2 separate regions of the Homo sapiens genome follow, and region 1 is linked to region 2. Evidence: promoter capture Hi-C in 16 types of primary human blood cells and fetal thymus (Javierre and others, 2016). All regions are on one chromosome and are shown on one strand. Each heading gives the region's core, a stretch centred on a gene start or on the middle of the fragment in contact. The rest is flanking DNA. Distances are from core to core; before and after follow the strand shown. Region 1 overlaps ORMDL1 (ORMDL sphingolipid biosynthesis regulator 1). Region 2 holds the start of INPP1 (inositol polyphosphate-1-phosphatase).

What was found. Contacts are between HindIII fragments. The CHiCAGO score rates a contact against its expected background, and 5 or more counts as called.
Region 1: a contact is called between a fragment that was not itself captured here and the fragment with the promoter of INPP1 in region 2, in 2 of 17 cell types (monocytes and M0 macrophages). The highest score is 7.3, in monocytes.

What each region holds. Positions count from the first base shown.
Region 1 is chr2:189,779,407-189,782,596 of GRCh38, reverse strand. It overlaps ORMDL1 (ORMDL sphingolipid biosynthesis regulator 1), which reads left to right. Exons shown (of 5, transcript NM_016467.5): 3 at 1-175. The coding sequence starts at 2. Among named protein-coding and RNA genes, the nearest start is that of ORMDL1, 3.3 kb to the left of the region's middle. The HindIII fragment of the contact is 2,425 bases long and covers 710-3,134 here.
Region 2 is chr2:190,342,035-190,345,705 of GRCh38, reverse strand. INPP1 (inositol polyphosphate-1-phosphatase) reads right to left here and starts at 2,117. Exons shown (of 7, transcript NM_001128928.2): 1 at 1,745-2,117. LOC124906109 (serine/arginine repetitive matrix protein 1) reads left to right here and starts at 657. Exons shown (of 1, transcript XM_047446773.1): 1 at 657-3,671. The coding sequence starts at 1,390. The coding sequence ends at 2,268. RefSeq lists silencers at 1,422-1,751, 1,822-2,131. The HindIII fragment of the contact is 2,404 bases long and covers 457-2,860 here.

The DNA of each region.
Region 1 (3,190 bases), core at 673-3,172, 560 kb after region 2:
CATGAACGTTGGAGTTGCCCACAGTGAAGTGAATCCAAATACCCGTGTCATGAACAGCCGGGGTATGTGGCTGACATATGCATTGGGAGTTGGCTTGCTTCATATTGTCTTACTCAGCATTCCCTTCTTCAGTGTTCCTGTTGCTTGGACTTTAACAAATATTATACATAATCTGGTAAGAATTTCACATTATACTAAACACTTAAAAGTTTTAAGTTTAGTGGTTGCCGGAAATTAAGGGGAGGAAGGAATGGAAAGTTATTGCTTAATGGGTACAGAGTTTTTGGTTTTGCAAGATGAAGAGAGTTCTGGATGTGGATGGTAATGGTGATGATTGCACAACAATATGAATGTTTTTAATACCACTCAACTGTACATTTAAAGTCCCAGCACTTTGGGAGGCCAAGGCAGGCAGATCACAAGGTCAGGAGTTCAAGACCAGCCTGGCCAACATGGTGAAACCTCATCTCTACTAAAAATACAAAAATTAGCCGGGCATGGTGGCGCATGCCTGTAGTCCCAGCTACTCGGGAGGCTGAGGCAGGAGAATCGCTTGAACCTGGGAGGCAGAGGTTGCAATGAGCCGAGATCATTCCACTGTACTCCAGCCTAGGTGACAGAGTGAGATTTCGTCTCAAAAAAAAAAAAAAAGTGTCTAAGATGGTAAACTTTATGACATGTGTGTTTAAACATAGTTTTTAAAGAAGCTTAAGGTTTTGTGTTGTATACAACTTAGTTTTTTTAACAGCTTTTTTGAGATATAATTCACATGCAATAAAATCCACCCATTTAAAGTGTATAGTTTAGTAGTTTTTAGTATATAAGACTTAATTTTGAAGAATTCTAATCTGGGATAGAATTTTCTTTTTTCTTTCACGCTTTATTTCAACATTGGTCCTTTTTCTAAGTAAGACTTTTTTTTTTCTCATTGTATAGAATCTAGAAAATAGATCATTTTAGTTTCAATCCTTGTTAACTTATCTATCTAAATAGTGTAAGTATACTTCACTGTTTCAGTATTTAAGTTTTGAACTTAATCATCTTATGTGATTCAGGATCTTATGGTGCCTTAGCTGCTGCTTGTTACTCTCTTGTGTTAGCTCTACAGAGTATCAAAGTTTTGATTGACTGTACTGACCATATTATGCAGCCCTGGAAATTGCCTTTTACAAAAACAAAAAATCTTGACAGCGACTTTTCTTGTCTTTAATAACCCATTAAAGTAACGTGAAAAGGAGGAAATACAGTTAGTTGAGGATTTTAATTGAATCCAGTTTAGCAGTACATTTGTTGAAAGATATTTTTTAAAATGAACTTAAAGCATTAAGACAGGAAAACAGGAGAAATTGATTTTTAAAAATTAATATTTATTTTGGCCAGTCACGGTGGCTCATGCCTGTAATCCCAGTGCTTTGGGAGGCTGAGGTGGACAGATCACTTGAGCTCAGGATTTCAAGACCAGCCTGGGCAACATGGTGAAGCCTGAAATTCTGTCTCTACAAAAAATACAAAACCTTAGCCTGGCATGGTGGCAGCACATCTATAGTCCCAGCTATTCGGGAGGCTGAGGTAGGAGAATCGCTTGAGCCTGGGAGGTGGAGGTTGCAGTGAGCCAAGATCGTGCCACTGCACTCCAGCCTGGGTGACAGTGAGACCCTGCCTCAAATAATAACAATAATATTTATTTTCTATCTTCTGGAGTATATTTGAAGTTGACTGGAGGAGGATAAGAATGATGTGCTGGTAGACATGATAAATATGTGTCCATTTAGTCCATTTTATGTGATAGACTTTGTAAGAGCAAACGATGTTTTCTTTTAAATAGTGACTTCTCTGAAATATTTTACACTAATCATCTCACTTTTGTTGAAACTTCCTTTGGCTTCTATAGGATCACTTTCACCGGCATATATTTCTGACCTTCTCTTTCTTCTTATGGGGTCTTCCTTCTCTTTTCCTCTCTTAAATATTTCTATTCCCAAGGTTCTTTTCTTCATCTCTTCTTATGCTATGTATTCTACCTAGGTTACTTCATCTACCCATATTTTCAGTTTCTACCTGTAGAATAAGGATGCTCCTATTTATTTTTATCACCAGATTACTTTGCACCTTAAACCAAACAAGTATAAATGGAACTTATCTTATTCCTGATTACTCCCTTACCACCCACAATCTGATCCTCTGGCTTCACTACTAATCTTATCTAAAGGCCAAGCCAGACAGCTGAATGTTAATGGTAAAGCAATTAATATACAGGTTGAGCATCCCTAATCAGAAACCCAAAATAGAAAATGTTCTAAAATTAGAAACTTTTTTAGCACCAGTGTTGTGCCACAAGCGGAAAATTCCATACCTGACTTCCTGACAGGTTGCAATTAAAATGCAATCAAAACTTTATTTCATGCACAAAATTATTAAAGATACTATATAAAATTATCTTTAGGCTGTGTGTGTATGATGTATATGAAACATAAATGAATTTCATGTTTAGACTTGGGCCCTGTCCCCAAGATATCTCATTATGTATATGCCGATATTCCAAAATCCAAAACAATCCAAAATCTGAAACACTTCTGCTCCAAAGCATTGTGGATAAGGAATACTCAACCTGTAATGTATAGTCCAAACAGGCTGTTTAGAGAGTAAAATGGAGCTTTGGTAATAACTACTACAAGAGATTAGGTATAATCAGAACCATCGTATGCAAACAAGAATACAAGGTCACCTAAGTCTTAGGATAACTTCTTTTCCTTTATATTCCATATCCATTTGCTCAGAGCACTGTCTTCTACTGCTTTACTCTCAACTTGATCCCCATACCCTCATTTTTTCCTCAAGTAAATTACTCAGATAAATCAAATAGTCTTCTTGATGCTTCTCTACCCTTCTCCATTCCAGCTTGGCAGAGTGATGTTTTAAAAATGCATGTTTGCTCAAGTCATACTCTAAGTCATTCAGTGATCATCCATTGCAGTCATGGTAAAATCCAAGTTTCTTGTGTGACATATAAGACCAGTTGATAACAGTGCAGAAACAAGGAGACTTCACCTTGTCTCAACCATCTCTAAATAGAGGCTATACACTAGCAATAAAGAAAATCATCTTGCTCTCATTTTATTGTTTTGGCTTAAGCTTTTCTACTATATTTTCTTTTCACCTGGACCAAGTACTCTTTTGTTTTTAAGAGACT
Region 2 (3,671 bases), core at 868-3,367:
TTATTTCTAAGCTCTCAGCCAAACACATTAACATAGTTTTATTAACTTCATTACAAGATTCAAAGTATTTTAACAAGAACATTCATAAGGACTCACATCGGGAAAAAGTGCTTATATACACCATCCTCACCTTTAAAAAATGAAGATGACGTTTGTTTTCATTGATCACTTTATATAACATAATTATCTTTTAAGCAATTTCTGTATAACATGAAATAGAATGAGACATTTTCTAACTGTTATTAGAGACAGAATTAAAAAGCAAAATAAATATATAATAACCTTTATAACTTTTGTCTCACAGGCCTTCTATGTCAAACAAGAAATTATCTTTTCATTTTTTTCAGGACTATAACAAGGAAAGCTATAATTTAAATCTATAATAAGGTATATCATTTTAAAGGGCATTAGTCAAAGCTGCAATTTCCAAGCAAGCGGTGGTTTAGTCCAAAAGCTTGAAAAGTGGTAGCTTATTCTACACAAAAAGTACAGTGTAACTCTATGTATTTGACATAATTCTCTTCATGACTAAGCTGACTTCAAAAGTAGTATAAAAATCCATAAAAACTTAAAAATAAAGTAGGCTCTACATAAGAATGGAAACAAATATCTGTATTGAAAAAATGAATTCTTCCATTGCCTTTATTTTTTCCCTTATGTTCTCTATTTTAAAAGGTAAGAATGAGATCACTTAGCTAATTCACCAATCAAGAGTAGTTCAGTGGATTACTTTCATCCTTATACTATTATCAAGTTGAGCAGGGCTGATCCTTATCAACTTTTCTGGCTTCAAAGCTAGGAATCAGTGTAAAAGGGCTAAAAAATCTTTTACTCAACAGATGGGATCCACTTAAGTGGTCTGTCCATACTTTTAACCCACTGTTCTTTTGAAGTGAACACCATCATACAGTGGGCAAACTTCTGCTTATTCAACACTTTAAAAATACCTTTAAAATGAGAAATCTCCAAAAAACAAGCCGTGGTTTCTTATAAGTGTTTTTCACAGATGTACTAAAGTAAGCGTTTCCTTTCACACTCTTTGCGCCTAACCGTCTACATGATAGGGCCAAACCCAGGTTAAATATTTTTTTCCAGCTACCACTCTGGACACACCAACTAATTATGCACACCTCACAAAACCACCTTTCAAAATGCAGAGAGAATTAACAGCAAGGAAGTAAAGATTTTTCTAAATATAGTCCCATCATATTTATTTCACACTCATCAAGTAGGTCACTGGAGGTAGCTGGCAGCTAGGGACACTCAGATGCATCTCTCAAAGCCAAGGCTGAGACCAAGGGGTCACTGACAGCTGCGCCATCTACCTGTTGCAGCTGGGCCACTGCTCTGGACAACTGTCAGATCAGCTTCTTCGTCCTACAAATACTAATGACTGGATTTTTAAAATCGTTGTTTGCCACCCTTTCTTCCCGCCCCCCAACCCCATCGGGCCGCTCGGGCAGGGCCAAGGGCGCCGCGGGACTCACGAGCTCCCCTCCGCGCTGGCTGCAGCGGCGATGCCGGGCATGCCTGGCCGGGCCCGGCCGGGGGCGGCCTCGCTGCCGGGGCAGGGACCTCGCAGGCCGGCGCGCAGAGGCGAGGAACCCTCCCGGCGCCATCGACTCACCTACCCGCGGAGAGGCGACGGCGCGCGCCGCTCACCAGCCCGGGCCCCAGATCCAAGGAGGAGGGGCAGCGGCGCGGGGACCCTGTGGTGGGTGTCGTAAGGAGGAAAACGTGTTACCTAAGCCGGGGATGAGGACAGAGCAGGAGGCAGCAGCCTTTCCCTCGAGAAACGGAAGCGGCGGGGAGCAGGAGGAGGAGGAGGCGCGGCCCGGGCGCGAGGTTAGGCGAGGGGCGCTGGGCGTGCGGCCGCAGGCGCGGCCAGAGGACGAGGGTTGGGGAGGACGGCGGAGGTCACGCGAGCGAAGGCGAAGCCCCGGCGACGCACGGCCCCGCTTGGCTCGGCACCGGATCCGAGCTTGGCCTCAGCCAGGCCGCCGCCCCCGGCTTTCCCGCGGGACCGCGGCGTGGAAACGCGCGCTGCCGCCTCGGGGCTCCCGGGACGCGCGGGCCCCCCACGCCTGCCCGAGCCGGGCGTCCGCGACGTCACAAGTGGAGCGCGATGATTCAGAGGGAGGGCCAGGAAGGGAAGGGCTCTGGGGTCAGCTTGGCCACGGCTGCTGTTTCCTTGTCGCCGCCCACGAATTCACTTTTAAATCTTCCTCCTCCATTCATCTGTACTCTCATAGGGGACTGCGGGTTTGACAGATGGGTTGGCAGCTGTGAAGATGGACTTCCTGCCAGTGGTATCCGGGTCCCACTGTTCTAATGGAAATGTCAGGTGTACTGGATGTTCCTCAAGACACAGCAGTGTCTCTGGGCCTTGCCTCTTAAGGAGTGGGCCTCGGGCCACCTGGACAGGAAGCGCATCAAGGGTGGGGAACTTATCTCTCTCCAGCCTTTGGTGCTGTGATACTCAGTGTACCTTAAGGATGGTTTGGGTTGAACCTAGGTAGGAATGGGTGTTGGTGGGCGGGGTGGGGGTGGGGGGAATAGAAACCTTAAAAGGGCAACACAAAGTTTTGAATAGAAGAGGCCAAGCAGCCTCGCCCAGAAGCTGATGTTTGTGAATGTACTGGGCCTTCTAAAGCGGCGCTTCACACACCTTTTCACTTCTTGGCACAGGTAGGAAAGGATGATATTACAAGGGTCAAAATGGGGGTAAACAGAAGAGGCTGCTCCTGCAGAAGGCTTCCTGCAGAAGCCCTTGCACTTGGAGGGCTGGGAAGACCCATGCTGTATCTGCATCCCTGTCATTCGTTTCACGGCATCCAGTTGGGAAGCTCTGCTTAAAGCTTTGTCTGGCACGTTTTCTTAGCTACATTTTTCCACTCCAGCTGAGACTGCCTCACTGAGTTGTCAACACTTGGTCTTCTTCAGCAGTGAGGAACCAACAAGACAGGAGGCTGGGTCAATACTCAACTTGGCAAACTCCAGGAAATGGTGCTTAAAACGTTTGGCTTCTTGAATGGAATTCATGGTACTGCTCCCAGCCTGCACCTGGGTTCTCCAACTTGAGACAATTTCTCCCCGCATCCCCCCACCCTTCCCTGGCTTTCACTCACTAGCAAGTGGGCTGCTTCTACTTTCTTTCTCACATTCATTTCTTAGGTCCATTCTCAGAGCGGTTAGGATTACTGTTTAATTAGCCTCATAATCATATCTATGATGGCAAAATCAAGAAACAATTTAAACATGATTCTTAAAAGTAAGGAGATAAATACCAGAGACATAGAAGGTGAAAGAATTTGCCTCTAGGAAGCAGGAATTTAAATTTGGGGAAGACAGGGTGGAGCAAGGGATATAAATCTAGTCCATTTTTCTTTTCTTTTCTTTTCTTTTTTTTTTATTTTTAAGATAGAGTCTCACTCTGTCGCCCAGGCTGGAGTGCAGTGGCATGATCTTGGCTCACTGCAACCTCTGCCTCCTTCGTTCAAGCGATTCTCCCACCTCAGCCTCCCTAGTAACTGGGATTACAAGTGACTGCCACTATGCCCAGCTAATTTTGTATTTTTAGTAGAGACGAGGTTTCACCATGTTGGCCAGGCTGGTCTCGAACTCCTGACCTCAGGGGATCCGCCCAGCTCAGCCTCCCAAAGTGCTAGGAT